Linked DNA regions of Homo sapiens: all the other regions are linked to region 4. Evidence: promoter capture Hi-C in human tissues and cell types (Jung and others, 2019). All regions are on one chromosome and are shown on one strand. Each heading gives the region's core, a stretch centred on a gene start or on the middle of the fragment in contact. The rest is flanking DNA. Distances are from core to core; before and after follow the strand shown. Region 1 holds the start of HAGH (hydroxyacylglutathione hydrolase). Region 2 holds the start of RHOT2 (ras homolog family member T2). Region 3 overlaps MEIOB (meiosis specific with OB-fold). Region 4 holds the start of UBE2I (ubiquitin conjugating enzyme E2 I). Region 5 has its middle 12 kb from the start of MSRB1. Region 6 holds the start of WFIKKN1 (WAP, follistatin/kazal, immunoglobulin, kunitz and netrin domain containing 1).

Region 1 (4,058 bases), core at 121-2,620, 520 kb after region 4:
GCACTGCCTGGCAAATGTTCCCGGCTTGCTGTTTTGTAACTGTAATACTTTGTACAAACAGGTCAAGGACCTGCAGCCTGGGGCCTGGACCAAGTCCAGAAACATGTTCGGTTTGGCCCCAAAAACAAAAAAAAATTGAGATATGGTCTCACTCTGTCCCCTAGGCTACAGTGCAGTGGTGCGATCAAGGGTCACTGCAGCCTCGACCTCCTGGACTCAAGCGATCCTCCCACCTCAGCCTCCAAAGTGACTGAGACTACAGTTGTGTGCCACCACGCCCGGCTGATTTTGTTTAGTTTTTGTAGCGATGAGGTCTCAACATGTTGCCAGGCTGGTCTGGAACTCCTGGACTCAAGCGATCCTCCCGCCTCGGCCTCCCAAAGTGCTGGGATGACAGGCGTGCGTCACTGCACTTCTTTTTTAAATCAGGAAGTTTCACAGCATCTTGCTTCCCTTGAACTGGGCGGCACCAAATACGGGGGCTGGGGCCTCCCTTAGAATGGGGTACGCACGCCCTGCCGATGCACACAGTCCCGCTGGAACTCTCTGCCTGGACCCTTATGAATGTCCCTAAAACTGTAATTCTGAGGACCTCAAAATCCATGTCCTTTCCTTAGCAATGGCGACATTCTACCCCCTGCAGAGCCTTGACAGCTTTCGGCGAGATCTGGAAACCGCCAGGGACGCCTCCCTGTCTGCGCCTCCGCCCGCCCAGTGCCCTGCGCTGCGCACCCGCCCGGGGCGCTGGCCTGGCCCGGCCGCGCGACCACCTCGGGCGAATGACACGCCGGGTCCCCAGACGGGGGCTCCGGCGCCGGGCGGGCAGCTCCACCACCGCAGGCGGCGCCGCGAGACCGCGGTCCTTGCAGCGGGGCAGCAGGTGCGGGGTGGGCCAGGCGTCCCGGGGCCCTGCCCGCTGCGCCTCAGAGCCGCGCCCCAGGCTCTCCTCGGCGCCGGCCCGGGCAGGACGCGATGCCCTGGAGGCGTCAGGGGCGCGGCCGGCCCAGCCCGAGCGTGGAGGCCGCGGCGGACGCAGGCCTGGCCCTGCTTACCTAGCGCTTTCCGCACCCGCGGCCCCGCGCCCGCTCCGCGCCAGCCTCAGCGCCTGCGCCGCCTCCGCTCGAGCCCGGCAGCGCGGCCTTAGGCACCTGCGCAACAGACACCGCGTCAGCGGTCGCCAAACGACGGCCCGGCGCCGCCCGCTGCCCGCCCCGCCAGGCCCGCGTCCCCCGGCCCGCACCGCCCCGCCGCACCCACCGAGGCCTCGGCGGGCGCAGGCGGCTCCCAGCGCGGCGAGGCTGCGGCGGCCGAGCAGCCCTCGGCCCACCACCATGACCCGGGCCGGGCTGGACTGCCGAGCTGCCCAGGACTGCAAAACACCGGCGTCGGCGCGTCGCAGCCAATCAGCGCCCGCCTCGCGCTGCCCTCAGCCAATCAGCGTCCACCTCGCACCGTCCGCCAACCAATCAACGCGCTCGCGCTCAACTTGTTTTGTCCGCGAGCCCCGACTGCCACGGGCCGGGAGACGGGCCTGGGAGCGGCGGCGGCGGCCCGAGAGCTGCGCCGGGAGAGCTGTGCCGCGAGCCTCCGCCTCTTTTTTGGCACCGCACAGTGGATCCCTGGAGGCCGAGCGCCACGCCGCCCGGGTACCCGGCAGATCGCGAGGTGGAACGGGCCGTCGCTGCGGGGGACAGCGTTCCGAGGCAGTTGGTCCTCTCCGGGATGCCGTAGGCATCAGCTGACCGGCCCAGCCCACGTGACTACAGGGGCACTTGATGGGAATCATGGCAGCATCCAGGCCATTGTCCCGCTTCTGGGAGTGGGGAAAGAACATCGTCTGCGTGGGGAGGAACTACGCGGACCACGTCAGGGAGATGCGCAGCGCGGTGTTGAGCGAGCCCGTGCTGTTCCTGAAGCCGTCCACGGCCTACGCGCCCGAGGGCTCGCCCATCCTCATGCCCGCGTACACTCGCAACCTGCACCACGAGCTGGAGCTGGGCGTGGTGATGGGCAAGCGCTGCCGCGCAGTCCCCGAGGCTGCGGCCATGGACTACGTGGGCGGCTATGCCCTGTGCCTGGATATGACCGCCCGGGACGTGCAGGACGAGTGCAAGAAGAAGGGGCTGCCCTGGACTCTGGCGAAGAGCTTCACGGCGTCCTGCCCGGTCAGCGCGTTCGTGCCCAAGGAGAAGATCCCTGACCCTCACAAGCTGAAGCTCTGGCTCAAGGTCAACGGCGAACTCAGACAGGAGGGTGAGACATCCTCCATGATTTTTTCCATCCCCTACATCATCAGCTATGTTTCTAAGATCATAACCTTGGAAGAAGGAGATATTATCTTGACTGGGACGCCAAAGGGAGTTGGACCGGTTAAAGAAAACGATGAGATCGAGGCTGGCATACACGGGCTGGTCAGTATGACATTTAAAGTGGAAAAGCCAGAATATTGAGTTATTTCTTAACAAGTTTCGAGAGAGAAGGGAGCAAGACAAGAGCAAGCAACGGCTATTAAATGTCACAATCCTTTAATTAGAAACCATTTATTGGCCGGACGCGGTGGCTCACGCCTGTAATCGCAGCACTTTGGGAGGCCGAGGCGGGCGGCTCACGACGTCAGGAGATCCAGACCATCTTGGCTAACAGGGTGAAACCCCGTCTCTACTAAAAATACAAAAAATTAGCCGGGCGTGGTGGCGGGCGCCTGTAGTCCCAGCTACTCTGGAGGCTGAGGCAGGAGAATCAATTGAACCCGGGAGGCGGAGCTTACAGTGAGCTGAGATTGCGCCACTGTACTCCTGGGCAACAGCGAGACTCCGTCTCAAAAAAAAAAAAAAAAAAAGAAACCATTTATTTTAAAAATGATTAGATTGCTATGCCTCAACTCATAGAAGATGAACCCTTCAAGAAAACGTGAAGTAGAACGGGTGGGCCAGAAATGAAAACAGGCAAGTAAAGTATTTCTTCGGAAAACATTTTATCAAACCAAATGTTAAAAAGACTTTCCTTTTGTAAAACTGGATTAGAGAAGACTTTTCAGTGGGTTATCTCTAGGATGATCAGTAGTTCAGCACTTAAAAACTGCAGAGAAAACTGAAAGTTATGTTCCAGATAACTTTCCGTTGTTTACCAAATTTTCTTAGATTTGGTCATCATCAGGAAGCATTTGTAAAAATAAAAATCTCCACAAATTACTGGCCCATCTCGGACTTGCTGAATCAATTTGATAGGATTAATCTCCAGTGAAGCTGTGTTTACAGGGCATTCCAAGTGATTCTTATCAGGAAATGTGAAAAACACTCCTGTACATAATCGGTTAATTTAAAATTTTACTTAATAAGTGAACAAGTAATGAAGATTTCACCTGTTTACTTAGGGTATCTACCCAGACCCATCGATTCTGAGTTCGGGAGATGATTTTGAAATTACTGTTTTCCAAATAAAGGTGCTCCCTTCTAAGTGGCTTACAAGGGTAATTTTTTTCCCCCCAGTAATGACGAGGAGGGATATTTCCTCCTTGTGGGGCTTCAGACCTTAGTCTTTGACCTTTGGCCTTCTGAGCACTGTGCTGTGTTAACACAGTTAATCAGCAACTGTACTTCCCAACCGGAGATAAGGAGGCTTTGTGGAAGTTGAATAGCCTGGGACTGCTGCTTTTGCTCTTGCCTGCACCCTCCTCTGAAAAAACATCCAGGCAAGATGCACAGCATAGCTGTCAATGCCTGGAGGAGTCCTTTGGGCTTCGGCAGGGGTTCCTGTTCGCGTTCACATCATCTGCTGGCCCCTGAAGAAAGCCTAGGACATCTGATTGAGTAGTAACGGTCCCCATGTATTGAACACAGTACTGTTAGGCACCATGCCAAGCAGTTTATTCTGTATTTCCACGTGTTATGTAACCAGCAACCAAGCCATAAGCTTAGTATGATCACTACCATCCCCATTACTCAGATGAAGACAGATCTAGAGGCTGCGAAGGCTGGCTAAAGTCACTCAGCTTAGTGGCAGAGCCGAGATGTAACCCAGCTCCCCCAAGACCAGAACGTGAAGTTTTGACCACAATG
Region 2 (2,528 bases), core at 1-2,500, 640 kb before region 4:
AGCCTCACGCTGGCTGCTCACAGGTGGTGGAGAAGATACCACTGCCCTTTTTTGCCATGTCCCTGAGCCTGTCCCCCGGGACCCACCTCCTGGCTGTTGGCTTTGCTGGTGAGTGCTGGTGGATGCAGTTTGGGCCTGTCTTAGGTGGGGGCCAAGTGGGCTGACTGGTGCCCTGTTCCAAGACAGGTGCCTCACCTGTGCCCCGGGCTCCTCGTCTCTGGGGTGGGGTGAGGACATCTGCCCTAGAGAGGGTCCTGGAGTCAGGAGATGATGAGGCAGGTGAGGAACCAGGCACAGCGCCCAGCACAGGGCCTGAATGCACGGGTGGCAGCGACTTTTAAGGAGGGAACTGGCCCAGCTGCAGGCCGACAGCCTGGCAGTGATGGACCCCCTAGTCCCAGTGGCACGTGGAGGGCACAGCCAGGAGCCCTTTTAGCACCAGCTCCCCCGACCAGCATCATGCCCAGTGGGGACAGTCTGGGTGGGTTGGGGGAGCCCTCTGAGTGCTGCCTGGTCCTGGCCCTGGCCCACCTGCACCGTCTACCCACAGAGTGCATGCTGAGGCTGGTAGACTGTGCCATGGGGACTGCCCAAGACTTTGCCGGCCACGACAACGCAGTGCACCTGTGCAGGTTTACACCGTCCGCCAGGCTGCTCTTCACGGCCGCCCGCAACGAGATCCTTGTGTGGGAGGTCCCCGGCCTCTGAGATGCAGCAGGGACTGTGGTGGTGGGCATCACGCCTGGTCATGCCAGGCACCTGGACACAGGCTTGGCAGAGGCGCCAGGTTGTCAATGGCCTCATGCTGGGACAGGCCAGGATTCACGTAAATCGCCTGGAGCAAGCTGTTGTAAATTTGGCGCCCTGTGAATACTTTCATACCTGTTGCCCTTTTGCCTAAGAAATCTTTAATGTTTCTATCTTGTAATAAACATGGGCATTTATTGCATTATTGCTGCATTGTTGCACTGGCTGTCTCTGGTCACTCCTGGCCTGAGCTCAGCCTCTGCCCGTCCCTTAATCGGCTGTTTGTCAAGGCCCCTGTGGTGCCGTGAAGCAATGGCCGCTCGGCCTGCCAGGGCGCCAGGACCCTGCGCTGTCCGCCGTGGCCGGCGCGTCCACACGGTGGCGCGCCGCACAGCCTGTCCGCTCTGGCCCGCCCGGCTCGCTGGTGCGGCTGTGCGGGCGGGGCCGGAAGTGTGGGGACAGCGCGGGGCCGAGAACCGGAAGTGCGGGGCGGGCGCGGGGGCAGAGCGAAAGGCTTGAGGACCAGGTCGGGGCCGGGTTCCGGGTCGGGGAGCGGCTCCGGGCGGCAGCTATGAGGCGGGACGTGCGCATCCTGTTACTGGGCGAGGGTAGGCGCCGGCCCGGGGGTCTCGGAGCTGCGGCGGCCGTGAGGCGGGGTGAGGGTCTCGGGGGTCGGGGGGCGCCGTGACCTTGGCCCTCGCGCTGACCGCCTCGCCCCGCGCAGCCCAGGTGGGGAAGACGTCGCTGATCCTGTCCCTGGTGGGCGAGGAGTTCCCCGAGGAGGTAAGGGGCACGCCCGCCGCGGGGGTGGGAGCGGGCCCAGCCGGGGGTCCCTGGTGAGCGCGCGGGTCCCTTGCAGGTCCCTCCCCGCGCGGAGGAGATCACCATCCCCGCGGACGTCACCCCGGAGAAGGTGCCCACCCACATCGTGGACTACTCAGGTAGCGGCCGTAGCCTCCCGGGGGCCCGGCCCGCAGCGGTCCGGCGGGCCTGCTGGGTCCGCAGTGGAGTCTCTTTGTCCCCCTAGAAGCCGAGCAGACGGACGAGGAGCTGCGGGAGGAGATCCACAAGGTACCCGTGGTGCGCGGGACGAGGGAGGGGCTGGGCGCGGGCTCGGCCTAATCCGCTTCGCAGCCTGGGGGATTGGACCGAGGTGCTCCGGGTGTCCTTGGCCCTGATAATTCTGTGACCTCCGCACTGAGGGTTGTCGGGGCCCCTACAGCGCACCCCGCTGGGAGCCGGCACCGCTCAGTCCAGTGGTGCTCCAGGGATAACAGGACCCTTCCCCGCGGGCTCTCCCTCCCTCCTGCCGGGGTGGCAGCAGCGTTTGCTCTTCCTGTGGGCTCTGTGTGCGCCACGTCCCCGTGCTGTGTGCTCCAGCCCACCGTCCCGGCCTCCGGGCACCCGGAGCTCCCAGTACCAGAGCACGTGTGCCGGGGACATCTCCAGGCAAGGGCACAGGCCACAGCCACCCAGGGCAGCCCCTGCTGTTGGCACCCCTCACTGCGGTCCTGTCACTCTGTCTGTAGCGAGGGGGGAGGCAGGGGCCAAGGCGGCGGCTGTCTTGCAGGGTGTTGGGTTGCAGGTGTGGCCGTGTCTGTCCTGAGCCCTCTGCTCCAAGGGTCTTGCTGACCACAGTTATGCTTCTGGGGCCTGGTGTCCCTGCACTGGCAGTGGGCGGGGAAGAGGCTTCTCTGAGGGTTCAGCAGCAGCTCCCAGTGTGACACTGGGGAGTGCCTGCTCTGCCAACACCAGGCTGGAGGCAGGTTTTAGGGAAGGCT
Region 3 (4,059 bases), core at 192-2,691, 540 kb after region 4:
GCCTCCGAGGCCTTCTTCCTGGGTGCCCCATCTCTTCTCAGAACAGCTCCTGCTGGCCTTGAACTCCTGGGCTCCAGCCACACCAGCCCCTGGGTGTTCCTCCCACACATAGGCACAGGGCTTTCCCTTGGTTATCCCTTTAGCCTCCTCATCAAGTCTTTGCTCAAACGTCACTCTCCCATGCAGCGTGCCCGACCACCTTGTGGCTCTCTAGGTCCTCCTGACTCTGTTCCACCTGTTCTCCTTAAATATTTCATAATTCACGGACATATTATCTTCATTATTTATTCTCTGTCTCTCCCTGCTGGAGGGTAAACTCCATGAGGGTGGAAATATTTATCCATTTTGTCGTTGCACCCCAGAACAGCACCCAGCATACAGCACATGCTCAGTAAATTAGTTCAGTGAAGAGCAATTCGGGGCATGCACATCTCCTCCCATGGTGCTGCCTTCAAGGAGACAACATCCATGTGTTGGATGTGCAAGATTCAGAGTACTCATATAAAAACCAGAGTCTCAGTATTTTACACCATTCCTCATAGTAATTCTATCTTTTAAAAATGCTGATAATGGTTTGGTCAAAAGCACACATTGCTTTATAATTCTGTCACTGCTGATGCTTTGTTACAGACCAGCAGCGTGAGCGTATGTTTTAAATGATACACTACATACTGTACTCATAGCTTCATGAGATGGCAAAGGATTGATTACTCCATTTCTTTAGCAGTACTGGCTTGACGGTTATGTCTGCACTATAAAGCACCCTGGGAATGCTCACAGGCACTAATCCCTCATCTCCCCAATCTGGCTTCCTTGATTTCATGCTGTAATAAACTGTAACTCCTTCAACAACCACTCCAGGGGATCATCTGGGCATTTAATGTGCAGTTATGAGCTAATGATACTACACAGAGAGTACTGTGTGCACGCATGCATGTGTTATCAATGTCCTAGCAGTAAAAGTTATTTGAATGTAGCAAAACTGAATTTACCTATTAGTCAATAATTTAGCATCCAAGCAATAAAATCGATCTCTCAAAAATTATCACAATGAATTATACTTTAAAATTAATCTGGTTTTTCACTTTTTTTTTTTTTTTTTTTTTTTTTTTGAGACGGAGTCTCGCTCTGTCGCCAGGCTGGAGCGCAGTGGTGCAATCTCGGCTCACTGCAACCTCCACCTCCTGGGTTGAAGTGATTCTCCTGCCTTAGCTTCCCGAGTAGCTGGTACTACAGGCGCACACTTTTACGCTCGGCTAATTTTTCTATTTTTAGTAGAAACAGGGTTTCACCATGTTGGCCAGGATGGTCTCAATCTCTTGACCTCGTGAGCAGCCCACCTTGGCCTCCCAAAGTGCTGGAATTACAGGTGTGAGCCACCGCGCCAGCCTTGTTTTTTTTTTAAGACGGGGTCTTGCTCTTGTGGCCTAGGCTGGAGTACAATGGCGCGATTTCAGCTCACTGCAATTTCTGCCTCCTGGGTTCAAGTGATTCTCCTGCCTCAGTCTCCCGAGTAGCTGGGATTACAGGCGCCCACCACCAAGCCCAGCTAATTTTTATATTTTTAGTAGAGACTGGGTTTCACCATGTTGGCCAGTCTGGTCTTGAACTCCTGACCTCAGGTGATCCACCTGCCTTGGCCTCCCAAAGTGCTGGGATTACAGGCATGAGCCACCACGTCCGACCTCACATTTCTTTAGTAAAGATATCAAAGTTCATTGTAAGTTTTTAAAAAAGTTATATAAAGCAATTTTTACTTCTAATTTGAATTAAATCCAGGCTGAATTTTCATTCTTAAATATACTGTATAAATATTGAAATGTGTTCAGTCATTTCCAAAGGGATAAAAGGTTTCACAAAGTTTTTTACCTGGATTAGTTGTAATAATGGTTTTTGAGATTACAGTTGCTGTCATGCAGTTCCGAAATTTGTCAAAATTTATTCTTACATCTGAGGCAAATATTACTGTTTGGGAAAAAAGCCATTTAAAATTATTACATGGGAGGATATAAATGACAAATATTGGACACAATCATTGAATGATAATACCTGTTTCTCGTGGCATCCAGCTCTGTGCAAGTAGAATGGATTCATTATCCCAACTGCATTTGTTTAAAAAGAAGTAATACAAATTGAATACACTAGAAAAAACTGATAGTGACATATTATTTACAACAATAAAAGAAAGCTTCAGTGGCTGGGGTCAGCCATCCCCAAGGTGGTCAAAGACCTCCTAGTCTTAAGCATGCCAGCTTCCTCCTAGGGAGAATTTAACAACTCCATGAGAGAACATTCCTTCAACACACACTCTCCTCTAGTAATACTCTGCTCTGCCAATTCTTAATTTATTTTTCCAACACTTAATCACTCCAGGCTAGTTAGAACTAAAGCCTGAAGACTTTAAACTCACACTTTCAGACCATGAAGGTGAGTGTCCCCCAGTGGATAAACTGCTCAGGGGCCTTGATGGGTTGAAGACATTTTTGAAATCAGTTCCTTTGGTACCCAGGCATCAGAGGTCTAGACAATGCCTTGTTGTACCTGGCAGTGCTTCAGGGTGCAGTCCCCACCCTGGCCCACGTGCCCCTGTGTCCTGCCCTGCTCCAGGATACTTCCCAGGAAGCACAGAGGGAAACTCTGGCTTGTTCCATGGGACCTAATAAAACATCATTTGTTACACGACAGAATTCAATAATAAAACTGGGCACGGTGGAGTCCCCCTAAGCAATTCCATGCCATCTAAAGACCTCATTTTAAGGTGGTATCCATAACAACTCAACATTCAAGAGTGAGATTTATTTTTTAAAATATCATTCATCTCCTATCATTATCCTCTCTTGATATGAAGTCCATCATATTTTTGATAAAATGAAAATGTCCTGGTGATAACTACAGGGATTTCACAGTTTGGAACAGACATCGGTGTTTACCATGTCATCGCAAAAGACGACTCTGTTTCATCATAGAGTCTAACTTCACACCTCTGGCCTTTTCTCCGGTCTGAAGTTGTAAAGTATTTTGGCTCTCCAACCTTAGAAATGGAAATAAATCATTACTCTTCACCTATATGTAGAAGTTCTTAAGTATTTGTTGATGAAAATACTCAAATGTTCACCTTTTAAACACCAAATTAGAAATATTAAACTAGCAAGAACCAGTAATATATAGTTGATTATTTTAAAGCATCTATCTCTAAACTACATGTACGTAGCTGAAGTTGTAAGTCACACAACACTTTGAAGAGACACAGGGAGACAGGTGCTTGAAGTAGAGACTGAAAGTCTTTTTAACATGTCACAACAAAGCTCCATGACAGGCCCCTCTGGGGCATCTACGTGGACTCCTCGAGGGCAGGGACTGTGTTTCCAGCACCTTTGTATCCCCATGGCTCAGCGTGGAACTCATGTGACTGAATGAACTCAGGCTCTCTGGGGCTCAGCACCTCCGTCTTCTTAGTGAACATCAAATACAGCATATCTGTGGTATAAAAAGTGTCCACAGGAAACAAACAAATATAGGATATGTCCTTTGCCTTCTCCACAGGGCTACCATGGTGAGAGCCACATGCGAGATACACAGGAAACTTTGACACTGTCCAATTCTGTCCATTGTGGGGTAAGATGATCAAAGAAGTGGAAATCCTCTTGCCCATTAAAGCAAGTTAAAAAAAAAAAAAAAGAAGAGTTGAAACTAGGACCCTTCTCTCCACCCAGTGGCTTCTCATGTGGGAACGGCAGGCACCTCTGAGAGATGCACAGCAGCAGGCCCAGCATGGACAGTCACTGGCCACCCCCACCTCTGCCACCACTGCATCTGTGGTGCCCAGAGAAAGGGACCTAGAAAGGACAGCCAGAGGCTGAGAGGTCAGCCTAACATCTGGGGTTGGGAAGGTGGAGAACACTGTATTAAAAAGGAGTTTTAAAGTGAAACGCCAGTGGGGGTGAGAGGAAGAAACAACAGGTTAAATGAAAGTGTGAAGAGTGGCCGGGAGGGGTGGCTCACGCCTGTAATCCCAGCACTTTGGGAGGCCGAGGTGGGTGAATCACGAGGTCAGGAGTT
Region 4 (3,986 bases), core at 1,411-3,910:
TGGTGAAACCCCGTCTCTATTAAAAATACAAAAATTAGCCGGGTGTGGTGGTGCACGCCTGTAATCCCAGCTACTCGGGAGGCTGAGGCAGGAGGATCGCTTGAACTCAGGAGGTGGAGGTTGCAGTAAGCCAAGATGGCGCCACTGCACTCTAGCCTGGGCAACACAGTGAGACTCCATCTCACAAAAAAAAGGAAAAAAAAAAAGCAGATTCCCAGGACCTCAAGGCTGGGGGCCAGGACAGCAGGTGTCTAGACAGGCCACGGAGGCTCTGAGCCTGGGAGTTGCAGCCAGGCCAGGCCCCCGCTGGTCTTGGTGGGACAGGGCTGTGCATGGCTTCCAGGGACTGGATTCTGGGGGAGGCTGCCCCTGCTGCCCTGGACCCACATCCCCACGGCTGCGCCTCCCAGGCAGGCAGACCCAGGGTGTGTGGCTGCCCCTCCTGCTGCAGGTGCCTGACAGGGAAATGCCCGCTGGGGACCCTGTGGGAGGTGGTGGGGGAATGAGTGAGGGAGGGAGGGAGTGAATGAGTGAAGGAGGGAATGAGTGAGTGAGGGAGGGAATTAATGCATGAGTGAGGGAGGGAATGAATGAATGAGGGAGGAAGGGAATGAGTGAGGGAGGGAATGAATGAGTGAGGGAGGGAATGAGTGAGGGAGGGAATGAATGAGGGAGGGAATGAATGAATGAGGGAGAGAGGGAGGGAATGAGGGAGGGAGGCAATGAGTGAGGGATGGAATAAATGAGTAAGGGAGGGAATGAGTGAGGGAGGGAGGGAATGAATGAATGAGGGAGGGAGTGAATGAATGAGTGAGGGAGGAAGTGAATGAGGGAGGAAGGGAATGAGTGAGGGATGGAATGAATAAGGGAGAGAATCAGTGAGGGAGGGAGGGAATGAATGAGTGAGGGAGGGAATGAGTGAGGGAGGCAGGGAATGAATGAGGGAGGGTGGGAATGAATGAGGGAGGGAATGAATGAATGAGGGAGGGAATGAATGAATGAGGGAGGGAGGGAATGAGGGAGGGAGGGAATGAATGAATGAGGGAGGGAATGAACGAATGAGGGAGGGAATGAATGAGGGAGGAATGAGTAAGTGAGGGAGGGAATGAGTTTGTGAGAGTGGGAATGAGTGAGGGAGGGAGGGAATGAATGAATGAGAGAGGAAATGAGTGAGGGAGGGAATGAGTGAGGGAAGGAATGAATGAGTGATGGAGGGAATGAATGAATCAGTGAGGGAGGGAATCAGTGAGGGAGGGAATGAGTGAGTGAGGGAGGGAGGGAATGAATGAGAGAGGGAATGAGTGAGGGAGGGAAGGAATGAATGAGGGTGGGAATGAATGAATGAGGGCGGGAATGAATGAATGAGGGCGGGAATGAGTGAGAGTGAGAATGAGTGAGTGAGGGAGGGAATGAATGAGTGAGGGAGGGAATGAGTGAGGGAGGGAATGAGTGAGTGAGGGAGGGAATGAGTGAGGGAGGGAATGAGTGAGTGAGGGAGGGAATGAGTGAGTGGGAATGAATGAGTAAGTGAGGGAGGGAATGAGTGAGTGAGGGTGGCAATGAATGAGTAAGTGAGGGAGGGAATGCGTGAGAGAGGGAAGGAATGATTGAGTGATGGAGGGATCGAATGAATGAGGGAGGGAGGGAATTAGTGAGGGAGGGAGGGAATTAGTGAGTGAGGGAGGGAATGACGGAGTAGGGGAGGGAATGAATGAATGAGTGAGGGAGGGAATGAATGAATGTGGTCACTCCCCGCGGTCCCCAAGCACCCGGACACCGTGACCTTGGCTGCGGCCCCGCCGTCGGCGAAATGCGGGCGGGGGGGCCGGGAGAGCCCGGGGGCCAGCACGGTCGCGCGTTGGCGAACGGACTGTCCCGCGCGCTCGCGGGTCTGGGGGCCTCCCGACCCGGTCCTGCTTGTTGCGTGGGCGGGAGGGGGGACCGGAAGCGCCCCTCCCCCACGGGCTCGCCCCGCCCCCGCCGCTCGCGGTCCCCCACGTCCCGCCCGCGCCCCGGCCCAGGGCCAGCCCCCGGTTTAGGGAGCATCCACACTTCTCCTCCCGTCGGTCATGCTCGCATTCGGCCTTTTGTACGGGGTCAGCTCATTGGGCGGATGAGAAGGTGTCCCCGCCTACCGCCCCGAACTGGCCAATTGCAAGGGGTTTCACAGGGCGCTGAACTCGCGGGAGCGTCACCGTCCTGCGACGCTTCAGAGGATCCTTAGGCCTCAGTGGTCTTTGACCCCCGGCCCCAGGACCTGACCCCAAGGAAACCTCCGGGACCTGTGGCTGGAGAGGTGACCGCCAGGCATCCGGGGAGCCTTTGGAGATCTCGGCTTCCTTTTTCCCCCGCTGCTTGCCGGCGTGTCCTCGGGTGGACGCGGGCAGCCCGAAGGGGAGTTTACAGACGCTCCCTCACATCGGGGACGCGGCTCCTTTAAGGGCGTAGGTGTCCAGGGCGCCGCCTGACTGGAAAGTCGCCCCCCGGCCGGGCTCCTGGGGCGGACCCGGGGCGCGGGCGCGCGGCGGCGGGGCGCGGGCAACGGGGAGCGCTCGGCGGCGCGGGAGGCGCTCGGGGCCGGGCGGCAGGAGCGGCGCGCGAGGCAGGCGTGCAGAGGGCAGCCCCGCGTTAGGCCCCGCCCCGCGCGCCCCGCCCGCGCCAGGGTCCTCGGAGCTGCTCTGGCTGCGCGCGGAGCGGGCTCCGGAGGGAAGTCCCGAGACAAAGGGAAGCGCCGCCGCCGCCGCCCCGCTCGGTCCTCCACCTGTCCGCTACGCTCGCCGGGGCTGCGGCCGCCCGAGGTGAGCGCGTGCGGGGGCCGGGCCGGGGCCGCGGGGCGGGGGTCGGGCCGAGGCCTCTACTCCTGTTGGGCCCGGGCCCCCGACTGCCCCGCGCCCCGCCCCGCCGAGCCGGGCCCCGCGCCGCGGCCGAGCTTTCCGGGGAGCCCGAGAGGCCCCGCGCTCGGCGCCGGCTCGGTCCGCGCTGCTGGCGCCGCTGGGCTGCGGCCCGAGCGGCCGGGCCGCCGCAGGCCTTCGGGGCCGGGGCTCCCCCACTTCGCCCCCGAGGTGCGCCTGGCGCGGGGCCGGGGCAGCCACCTGCAGCCGGGGCCCCGCGAGGCCGCGCCTTCCTCCTGCGCGGGGAGCGGCTTCCGGGGTCACGGTCGCCCCGCGGACGGATAGGATGGGCCGCGGGGGGAGAGTCTTGGATTGCAACATCGCTGGCTCGCGGGGGTGGGGGCCGGCGAGCGGGCTTGTTTTCGGTGCCTTAAAACCAAAACAAGTGTAAGTTTTCTTGTGCCTCTGAAGATGCTCCGCTGGCGCTTGCTGGGGCCCTGAACGTGAGCGCCTCGCTGGAGGGGGAGTTTTATTCTGTTTTGGACATCTCTTTTTATCGGTTGAATAGTAGTTGGTTCTGGTAGTTAACGTGCGTAGGAGGAATGTAAGGGAATGATTAGTTGGGCTTGTGATCGTGGCCTGTAGTCACGCTTGAATCGCAGAATGAAGTGGTTTTGTTTGTATAATTGGAAGTTACGCTTAGTTTCTCTGTTTGCAAAGTGCCTGTCTTTGGGGAGTTCGGTTTGTTTCCTTTTACAGGACCTACCCCAAGTGTTTCTTGCTCTTCAAGAAACGTTGCCTTTGGGTAGAGAACCTATGCAACGGAAGACGGGACGGATCCTCAGTTTGCCCTGATTGCTCATTCAGAGAGGTCCGTTCCCTAGGCCACTGGGTGATTGCTGGTGTGCGCTTGTATGGTGTCTCAGGGTTTGGGATCTTGCTTCAGAAACATTCTCGGGGCCTGGGGCAGATCAGGTGCGGCCAGGTAAGCGTCTCCCGACTGCAGGTGCTTGGGTCTTGCAGAAGGGAATACCTCCCCAAGCCTGGGAGAGTTTGCATTTGGGTGCAGGAGGGCCTTTAAAGGCTTCTTGTGCCAGCCTGTCGTGGCGACCACCCGTTGTGGAGATCAGTGCGGTGGAGTTGTGGGAGGTGAGT
Region 5 (3,758 bases), core at 281-2,780, 620 kb after region 4:
CTGTAGTCCCAGCTACTCGGGAGGCTGAGGCACGAGAATGGCGTGAACCCGGGAGGCGGAGCTTGCAGTGAGCCGAGATCGCGCCACTGCACTCCAGCCTGGGCGGCAGTGCCAGACTCCGTCTCAAAAAAAAAAAAAAAAAGAAACAACCCCAAACTGTAATTATGATAAACAACACCGATCTCATTTATGGAGTAGGAAATCAAGCTGGAGAGGTGGGGTCAGCCTAGGTCAGAGCAGGCAAGGACTGTGGGAACCTCTGAGGGAGGGACCTGGTCTGGTTATTATTTTGCAGAGAGGACTCTGGTTGGGGGAAGGCAGCCAGGAGCTGCCTGGGTTGTAGCGGGGAGAGGTGGGCGGAGGAAAGAGGCCTGGGATGTGGAACCCTAGGATCTAGCCCTGAGGGCGGGCCAGGTCCGGGCAGCCTGGGTCCCACGCAGCTGCCCTGAAGAAGGGGCTGGGGGCGTCCTGCCTCCACCCGCGCCCCCAACCACGCCTGCCGTTCCCACCGGCCGCGCCACCCCCGCCCCCGCCCCTGGCTCTGTCCTCCGGTGACCCTGGAAGGGGCACCCGTGGCTGCGACTGCACTCCCTGTAGCGGTCACTTCGTGAAGCCCGGCAAACCCCCTGCAGCTGCCCCTGGCACCCTCAGACGACCAGAGGCCTCGGCCTGGGTCCCCAGCACCGGCCCAAGGGCGGGCGTGGCCGAGGCGGTTTCTCTGCGCGGACGCTCGCTGCCTCCGCCGCAACCCCCGCGGCCACCCGGGGAACTGCAGCGCCGTCAGGCCCCCCGCCGCGCCTGCGCACGCAGACCACCCGGCCTGGCAGCACCGAGCGAGCGTGCCCCCTGCTGGTCAGTCCTGCGCACGGTCCCGCGCCCGGGCCCGGGAGGCCGCCTCGAGGGCCGGGGCTTGCACGTGGCCTCGGCGCCTTCGCCGACCCTACCGGACGCCCCCTCCTCCCACCTGCCGACCCGTCCGCGGGTAGGAGCCTCCCGGGAGCTGCCCACGGCCCCCACCCCCACCAGGGGCCACAGCCCCACCAGGGCCAGGCTCTGCGCGGCACCTGCCACTGAGAGAGCGGAAAGCGGTGGTTGAGCAAGGGTCTGAAGTATGGTCTGTTCCCCCATACGGGCCGCAGACGCTTCCTGGTGGCTGCTCTGAGCCAGGCCTGGGCCCCGGCGAGGGATCACGGTGTCTCAGACAGAGTTCCTTTTTATTCCCCATCCCTCGCCCGAGGTGACGGCCCAGCCGTGCCCAGGCCTGCCCGCTGCCCCTGAACCCAACCCTTGAGGGGCAAGGCCGTGCCCTGGGGAGGAAGGGGCTGCCCCCTCAGAGTCTGCTGTTCCTCAAGGAAGACGCGGGGGCAGCCGCAAGGATGGGGTATCACCCAGCAGGAGCGGGAGGGTAAGGTGACTGATTCCACACCAGACGCTCCATTGCTGGAAACACCACCCCCTCCTCCGGTGACCTGGCATACAGACCTTGCCCACAGCCATCCCTCCCTGGACTCTCAATGTGAGGGGGCCTTGGGGTCCTGCGGTTCACCCGTCTCCCCACTCAAGCAGTCTGCTTGCCGGCACCCCCCCCACCTCCTGAGCCCACTTGCCCCCTCCCACCCCCACCTCCCTACCACATCTTTTTTTTTTTTTTTTTCCTGAGACGGAGATTTGCTCTTGTTGCCCAGGCTGGAGTACAATGGTGTCATCTCGGCTCACCACAACCTCCCTGAGCCTCAGCCTCCCAGGCTGAGCCTGAGCCTCCCAGGTTCAAGCGATTCTCCTGCCTCAGCCTCCCGAGTAGCTGGTGTAGGGAAAAGAAAGAGAGATCAGACTGTTACTGTGTCTATGTAGAAAGGGAAGACATAAGAGACTCCATTTGAAAAAGACCTGTACTTTAAATAATTGCTTTGCTGAGATGTTGTTAATTTGTAGCTTTGCCCCAGCCACTTTGACCCAACCACTTTGATCCAATCTGGAGCTCACAAAAACATGTGCTGTATGAAATCAAGGTTTAAGGGATGTAGGGCTGTGCAGGACGTGCCTTGTTAACAAAATGCTTACAAGCAGTATACTTGGTAAAAGTCATTGCCATTCTCCAGTCTCAATAAACCAGGGGCACAATGCACTGTGGAAAGCTGCAGGGACCTCTGCCCTTGAAAGCAGGGTATTGTCCAAGGTTTCTCCCCATGTGATAGTCTGAAATATGGCCTCGTGGTATGAGAAAGACCTGACCGTCCCCGAGCCCGACACCTGTAAAGGGTCTGTGCTGAGGTGGATTAGTCAAAGAGGAAAGCCTCTTGTAGTTGAGATAGAGGAAGGCCACTGTCTCCTGCCTGCCCCTGGGAACTGAATGTCTCGGTATAAAACCCAATTGTACATTTGTTCAGTTCTGAGATAGGAGAAAAACCACCCTATGGTGGGAGGTGAGACATGTTTGCAGTAATGCTGCCTTGTTATTCTTTACTCTGCTGAGATGTTTGGGTGGAGAGAAACATAAATCTGGCCTACGTGCACATCCAGGCATAGTACCTTCCCTTGAACTTAATTATGATATAGATTCTTTTGTTCACATGTTTTTTGCTGACCTTCTCCTTATGATCATCCTGCTCTCCTACTACATTCCTTTTTACTGAAATAACGAAAATAATAATCAATAAAAACTGAGGGAACTCAGAGACCGGTGCCAGTGCAGGTCCTTAGTATGCTGAGCGCCGGTCCCCTGGGCCCACTGTTGTTTCTCTATACTTTGTCTCTGTGTCTTATTTCTTTTCTCAGTCTCTCGTCCCACCCGACTGGAAATACCCACAGGTGTGGAGGGGCAGTCCTCCCCTTCAGCTGGGATTACAGGCATGGGTCACCACGCCCGGGTAATCCGGGTAATTCTGTATTTTAGTAGAGATGGGGTTTCTCCATGTTGGTCAGGCTGGTCTAGAACTCATAACCTCAGGTGATCCACCTGCCTCGGCCTCCCAAAGTGCTGGGATTACAGGCGTGAGCCACTGTGTCCGGCCCACCACCTTAACATGGATGTTTGGATGAGCCTGGGGCCCTGGGATGCAGGCAGGAGGCACTACTCCCCAGCCCCCACCAGGATCACCACCCCTGCACTGCTGTGGCTGAGATCCCCAGGCGCCAGCAGGCCTCCAGCCACCCAGCTACCGGCCTGAGCCTGGTAGACAGCCCTGGGGACAAAACCCTGCACACAGGGGCCCAGTTTGCAGGCGAAGGCCAGTCTGCTCTTGGGCCTGAGTCCACTCTCGGGGAAACACTGGCCCCAGGTGCAGAGCTGGGAGTGCTGGGAGAAGGCAGCACAGCCCAGGCCCCTGCCTGGCCCTGTGCCTGGGAAGCCTGCTGCCCATTCAGCAGCTCCCTCCCTGCCGCAGCAGAGCCGCCTTCCACAGGACCTGCCCACAGAGCCCTTCCCAGAGCCACTGCTCCTCCTGCAGGGAGAAGCAGAAAGGGACAGGTGTGGGCATAGAGGACCTGAACTGGCTGCCTAGAACAGTATTGGGAGCCCTGTGCACCCCCTGCCAGACCCGCCATCACCAAATGACTCAGCATGGCAGGACAAGGACCCTGATCAGAGGCCACTGGCAGCCGGCCACATGTGGCCTGGAGTGGCTCAGGTCCCTGGCGGCAGAGGACACAGGGCTTCTCCCAGCTGTGTGGCCTCAGACTAATCGCGTTCTCTGAGTCCCCCTTGTCTCCCCAGAAGAATGAGGCTAAGGAGAGTACCTGCTGCACTGGGGTCAGTCGCT
Region 6 (3,683 bases), core at 636-3,135, 680 kb before region 4:
TGCCAGCAGGGCCCTTGTTTGGGATTATGAACAAACCTCACAGACTTTGAGGACCTGGATGGTCCTGCATTCACGGCATCAACACTACCCGCGCTGCTGTTAGACACTCCGCCATTCCTGGTTCTCTCCGAACCGTTCTTTGTACAGTAAATGTAATTCAGCTGTGGTCCCCACGTTTTGCTGTGTCTGGTGGGGTGGGTCTGGCAGTGGCGGTGCCCCGTGCCAGGGGCCAGTGCTGCTTCATACCCGGCAAACTGACCTCTGGCCTTTGTTTTGCCTGCTGTTCCCTGCGCTGACCGGGCTGACCTGCCGCGGTTGGCTGGGTTCGCCTCAAAGTGAGGGCTGGAGCTGGGCTGGAGCAGCTGGGCCTGGTCACGGCCATTCTCCTCTTCCCGGTGGATGGAATCCCAGCTGGGCTGTGCTGAGCCCTCGCTCACAGTCCCCGGCAGCAGATGGCCTGGGGCGGACTGTCCCCAACAGCAGCAGGACTCCAGAGGGCCAGGTCCTCCAGTCAGTCGGCCCGCTCAGCAGAGCCGCCTGCACGCTGGCCAATCTGGTGTCTGCTATGCCCGGCCCAGGGGGGTGTGGACGCCCCGGAGGTCACAGCTGAGCTGGAACGGGGCACTCCAGTTGGTACAGGGACCAGACCACAGCCTCTGGCTCAGGTGCCTCCCTGTGCTGTTTCGTGGGCATGTCCGGGCCTTAAGCCCCTCCCTGGCAGCTCCAGCCCAGCCGCCTGCTGCTGGGTCTGGCCTAGCTACCCCCACCCCCACGCTATCAGGGCCCACCCCCAGTCTCCTTGTAGAGCAGGGACTGGCGCCTGGAGCCGTCTCCGGGTCTCATTCTGACCAGACCAGGCTCCTGTTACCCTGCCTCCTGGGTCAGAGGTCAGACACAGGGTCAGGGGGACACTCCCATCCGGTCTCAAGAGAACCACTCCCTGAGGCCCCAGACATCTGGAGCCACAGAGGGTTTGGAAGGGTAGATTCCAGGCAGCCTTTTGTCCTGCTGCACCAGGCAGGCCAGCCCCCTGCCCTCCCCAACGAAGAGGAGCCAGCCTGGGGATGTGTGCCCCGCCGACGGGGGGCTGGGGCAGGGCAAGGCTCTGGTGCCCTGGGACACTTGCTCTTTTCAGCTGCAGACGCCCTTGCACTTGGCCTTCCCTCGGGCGGTGCCATCCCACGCGGAGCCACGTCCAGGGCTACACGGTGCGTGGGCCGAGGCTCCGGCATCAGCGTTTCGGGCTGTTCTTATGCTTGTGGTGGCCACAGGCCTCTTCCTGCTGCACCTGCCCCGCCTTGGGGACAGGCCTGAGCCCCAAGCCCGCTGCCTGGTTTCAGGGATGGGGTCTCTGGGAATGCAGTCCTGCCGGGTTGGGCCCCACTCCAACAGGGGCAGCAGAGCAGAGGAGGCCGGGCTGTGCTGGGCGTCCTGCAGACCCCTGTGCCCCTGAAACAGCCATGGAGGGGGGAAGGAACCTCGGAGCGGAGTGAAGCCCTCGGCCGCACGTGACCGTTGCCAGCCTGGACCTGGCCCGGGGGACCCAGGCTGTGGTCAGCCACGCTCTGCGGGGAGGGCCCGTGCCTGCCACCCCCATGGCATAGGAGCCTGGGGTCCAGAGGGCGCCAGGGACAAAAGCTGGGATCTGCTGGCCCTGCCCCCACCCTACTGAGGGTCGTCAAGGAGATTGATCTCAGCCCAGGGGTGGACGAAGGGGTTCAGGTTACAGGGTCCCCTCCCCTCCCCCTCTCCAGCCAGAGCCAGCCCTTCCCCGCCCCGGTGACCCTCATGGCCAGTGGCTCTGTGCTCATGGGCCTCTGGCCCCTCCCCAACCTCCTCCCCTCTGCCCTGTGCTGACCAGGGCCTGGGAGCCCCCGCACGGTTCAGACAGAGGGGCCAGGCTGAAGCTGGAGAGGAACCAGCGTCACACAGACGGCCTCTGAGAACTTGGAGACCCCGTTACCCACCCAGCAGGGGTGTCAGGACAAGCATCTGCTGCAGGCTTCAGCCTCAGGGGCAAAAGGGAGCCCCGGGGTCCTGGTGGGGGCACCGACCACAGGCCCGGAGGGTGGATGCCTGCAGGAAGCTGGGCTCTGTGGAGCCCGAGGAGGGGCTGGTGGCCACACCCCCCGGCCCCCTGGCTCGGCGGCCCTCATGCCCGCCCTACGTCCACTCCTGCCGCTCCTGCTCCTCCTCCGGCTGACCTCGGGGGCTGGCTTGCTGCCAGGGCTGGGGAGCCACCCGGGCGTGTGCCCCAACCAGCTCAGCCCCAACCTGTGGGTGGACGCCCAGAGCACCTGTGAGCGCGAGTGTAGCAGGGACCAGGTGAGTGTGGTCGGGCCGGGGTCCTGGGGCTCAGAGCAGCCAGCCTGGGCAAGACCCTGCTGGAGGTGCCACCTTCTGCCTGGGCTCCCCAGACTTCTGGGGGGTCTGGGTCTGGGCCCCTTAAGGGGCCCAGAGACACCCCCATCGTTGCCCTCATTTGTCTTAAGAATAAGAGCCCTCCCCACTCCAGCTTTCATGCTCCCCATGTGCCTCCACCCTGGGGCACCATCATCCTCGGCGACCACCCCCACCCCGTCACTGCCTCTCCTCCCACCCTCTCCTCCCACCCTCTCCTCCCATCCACTTCTCCCACCCCTTCACTGCCTCTCCTTCCATCCTCTCCTCCCACCCTCTCCTCCCATCCACTCCTCCCATCCACTTCTTCCATCCTCTTCTCCCACCCCGTCACTGCCTCTCCTTCCATCCTCTCCTATCCACTCCTCCCATCCACTTCTTCCATCCTCTTCTCCCACCCCATCACTGCCTCTCCTTCCATCCTCTCCTATCCACTCCTCCCATCCACTTTTTCCATCCTCTTCTCTCACCCCGTCATTGCCTCTCCTTCCATCCTCTCCTCCCATCCACTTCTCCCACCCCTTCACTGCCTCTCCTCCCACCCTCTCCTCCCATCCACTCCTCCCATCCACTCCTCCCATCCACTTCTTCCATCCTCTTCTCCCACCCCGTCACTGCCTCTCCTTCCATCCTCTCCTCCCACCCTCTCCTTCCATCCTCTCCTCCCACCCTCTCCTTCCATCCACTGTCCTCCCTGTCCTCCCACCCTCCTTCCATCCGGGACCAGTGCAGATGGTGGTGGGGGTGCTGCAGCCGATGTCCAGCCTTTGTCCTGGCCCGCACCACCTGCTGGGTGGTCCTGAGCACTGTACGCCCTCCTTGGGCCTCAGTTTCCTCGTCTGTACAACGTAAAGAATAACGGAACTTGCTTGTGGGTGTGAGGATTCTGGAAGGTAAGCCAGGTGGCACCTCTGGCGAGGTGGCTCCTCACACAGGATGGAAAGGACACTGAGTCCCCGGGGAGGCAGCCACAGAGCGGGGGGCTCCCTGCTACCCCACCTGGGCCTCCCCTTGCAGGGGCCAGGCCAGAGCCCCGGGGCGGGGGGCATTGGGGCTCCCACCTAAGTGTCCCCCATCCCCAGGACTGTGCGGCTGCTGAGAAGTGCTGCATCAACGTGTGTGGACTGCACAGCTGCGTGGCAGCACGCTTCCCCGGCAGCCCAGCTGCGCCGACGACAGCGGCCTCCTGCGAGGGCTTTGTGTGCCCACAGCAGGGCTCGGACTGCGACATCTGGGACGGGCAGCCCGTGTGCCGCTGCCGCGACCGCTGTGAGAAGGAGCCC

What was found. Contacts are between HindIII fragments. The study calls those that stand out against the background at their distance.
Region 1: a contact is called between the fragment with the promoter of HAGH here and the fragment with the promoter of UBE2I in region 4, in 2 of the 25 tissues and cell types used here (IMR-90 fibroblasts and dorsolateral prefrontal cortex).
Region 2: the fragment with the promoter of RHOT2 here is called in contact with the fragment with the promoter of UBE2I in region 4 in 4 of the 25 tissues and cell types used here (dorsolateral prefrontal cortex, lymphoblastoid cells, mesenchymal stem cells and 1 more).
Region 3: a fragment that was not itself captured here is called in contact with the fragment with the promoter of UBE2I in region 4 in 4 of the 25 tissues and cell types used here (H1 embryonic stem cells, IMR-90 fibroblasts, aorta and 1 more).
Region 5: a fragment that was not itself captured here is called in contact with the fragment with the promoter of UBE2I in region 4 in 1 of the 25 tissues and cell types used here (dorsolateral prefrontal cortex).
Region 6: a contact is called between the fragment with the promoter of WFIKKN1 here and the fragment with the promoter of UBE2I in region 4, in 1 of the 25 tissues and cell types used here (dorsolateral prefrontal cortex).

Annotation. Positions count from the first base shown.
Region 1 is chr16:1,825,455-1,829,512 of GRCh38, forward strand. It overlaps HAGH (hydroxyacylglutathione hydrolase), which reads right to left and starts at 1,371. Exons shown (of 9, transcript NM_005326.6): 1 at 1,258-1,371. The coding sequence starts at 1,333. It overlaps FAHD1 (fumarylacetoacetate hydrolase domain containing 1), which reads left to right and starts at 1,752. Exons shown (of 1, transcript NM_031208.4): 1 at 1,752-3,456. The coding sequence starts at 1,785. The coding sequence ends at 2,450. RefSeq lists a silencer at 722-1,691 and an enhancer at 1,782-1,971. The HindIII fragment of the contact is 9,774 bases long and covers 1-4,058 here.
Region 2 is chr16:666,882-669,409 of GRCh38, forward strand. It overlaps RHOT2 (ras homolog family member T2), which reads left to right and starts at 1,251. Exons shown (of 19, transcript NM_138769.3): 1 at 1,251-1,355; 2 at 1,472-1,530; 3 at 1,607-1,688; 4 at 1,775-1,818. The coding sequence starts at 1,319. WDR90 (WD repeat domain 90) reads left to right here. Exons shown (of 41, transcript NM_145294.5): 40 at 24-108; 41 at 551-949. The coding sequence ends at 708. RefSeq lists an enhancer at 962-1,643 and silencers at 1,029-1,368, 1,429-1,528, 1,629-1,718. The HindIII fragment of the contact is 52,780 bases long and covers 1-2,528 here.
Region 3 is chr16:1,851,170-1,855,228 of GRCh38, forward strand. MEIOB (meiosis specific with OB-fold) reads right to left here. Exons shown (of 14, transcript NM_001163560.3): 7 at 2,931-3,031; 8 at 2,050-2,102; 9 at 1,870-1,965. Among named protein-coding and RNA genes, the nearest start is that of MEIOB, 19 kb to the right of the region's middle. The HindIII fragment of the contact is 5,559 bases long and covers 1-4,059 here.
Region 4 is chr16:1,306,976-1,310,961 of GRCh38, forward strand. UBE2I (ubiquitin conjugating enzyme E2 I) reads left to right here and starts at 2,661. Exons shown (of 7, transcript NM_003345.5): 1 at 2,661-2,798. RefSeq lists silencers at 1,730-2,019, 2,510-2,809, 3,010-3,199 and enhancers at 2,230-2,469, 3,171-3,782. The HindIII fragment of the contact is 23,762 bases long and covers 1-3,986 here.
Region 5 is chr16:1,929,024-1,932,781 of GRCh38, forward strand. No RefSeq gene overlaps it. Among named protein-coding and RNA genes, the nearest start is that of MSRB1, 12 kb to the right of the region's middle. The HindIII fragment of the contact is 5,872 bases long and covers 1-3,758 here.
Region 6 is chr16:629,100-632,782 of GRCh38, forward strand. WFIKKN1 (WAP, follistatin/kazal, immunoglobulin, kunitz and netrin domain containing 1) reads left to right here and starts at 1,886. Exons shown (of 2, transcript NM_053284.3): 1 at 1,886-2,325; 2 at 3,483-3,683. The coding sequence starts at 2,155. It overlaps RAB40C (RAB40C, member RAS oncogene family), which reads left to right. Exons shown (of 6, transcript NM_021168.5): 6 at 1-169. RefSeq lists enhancers at 511-1,244, 770-1,064, 1,245-1,979. The HindIII fragment of the contact is 11,828 bases long and covers 1-3,683 here.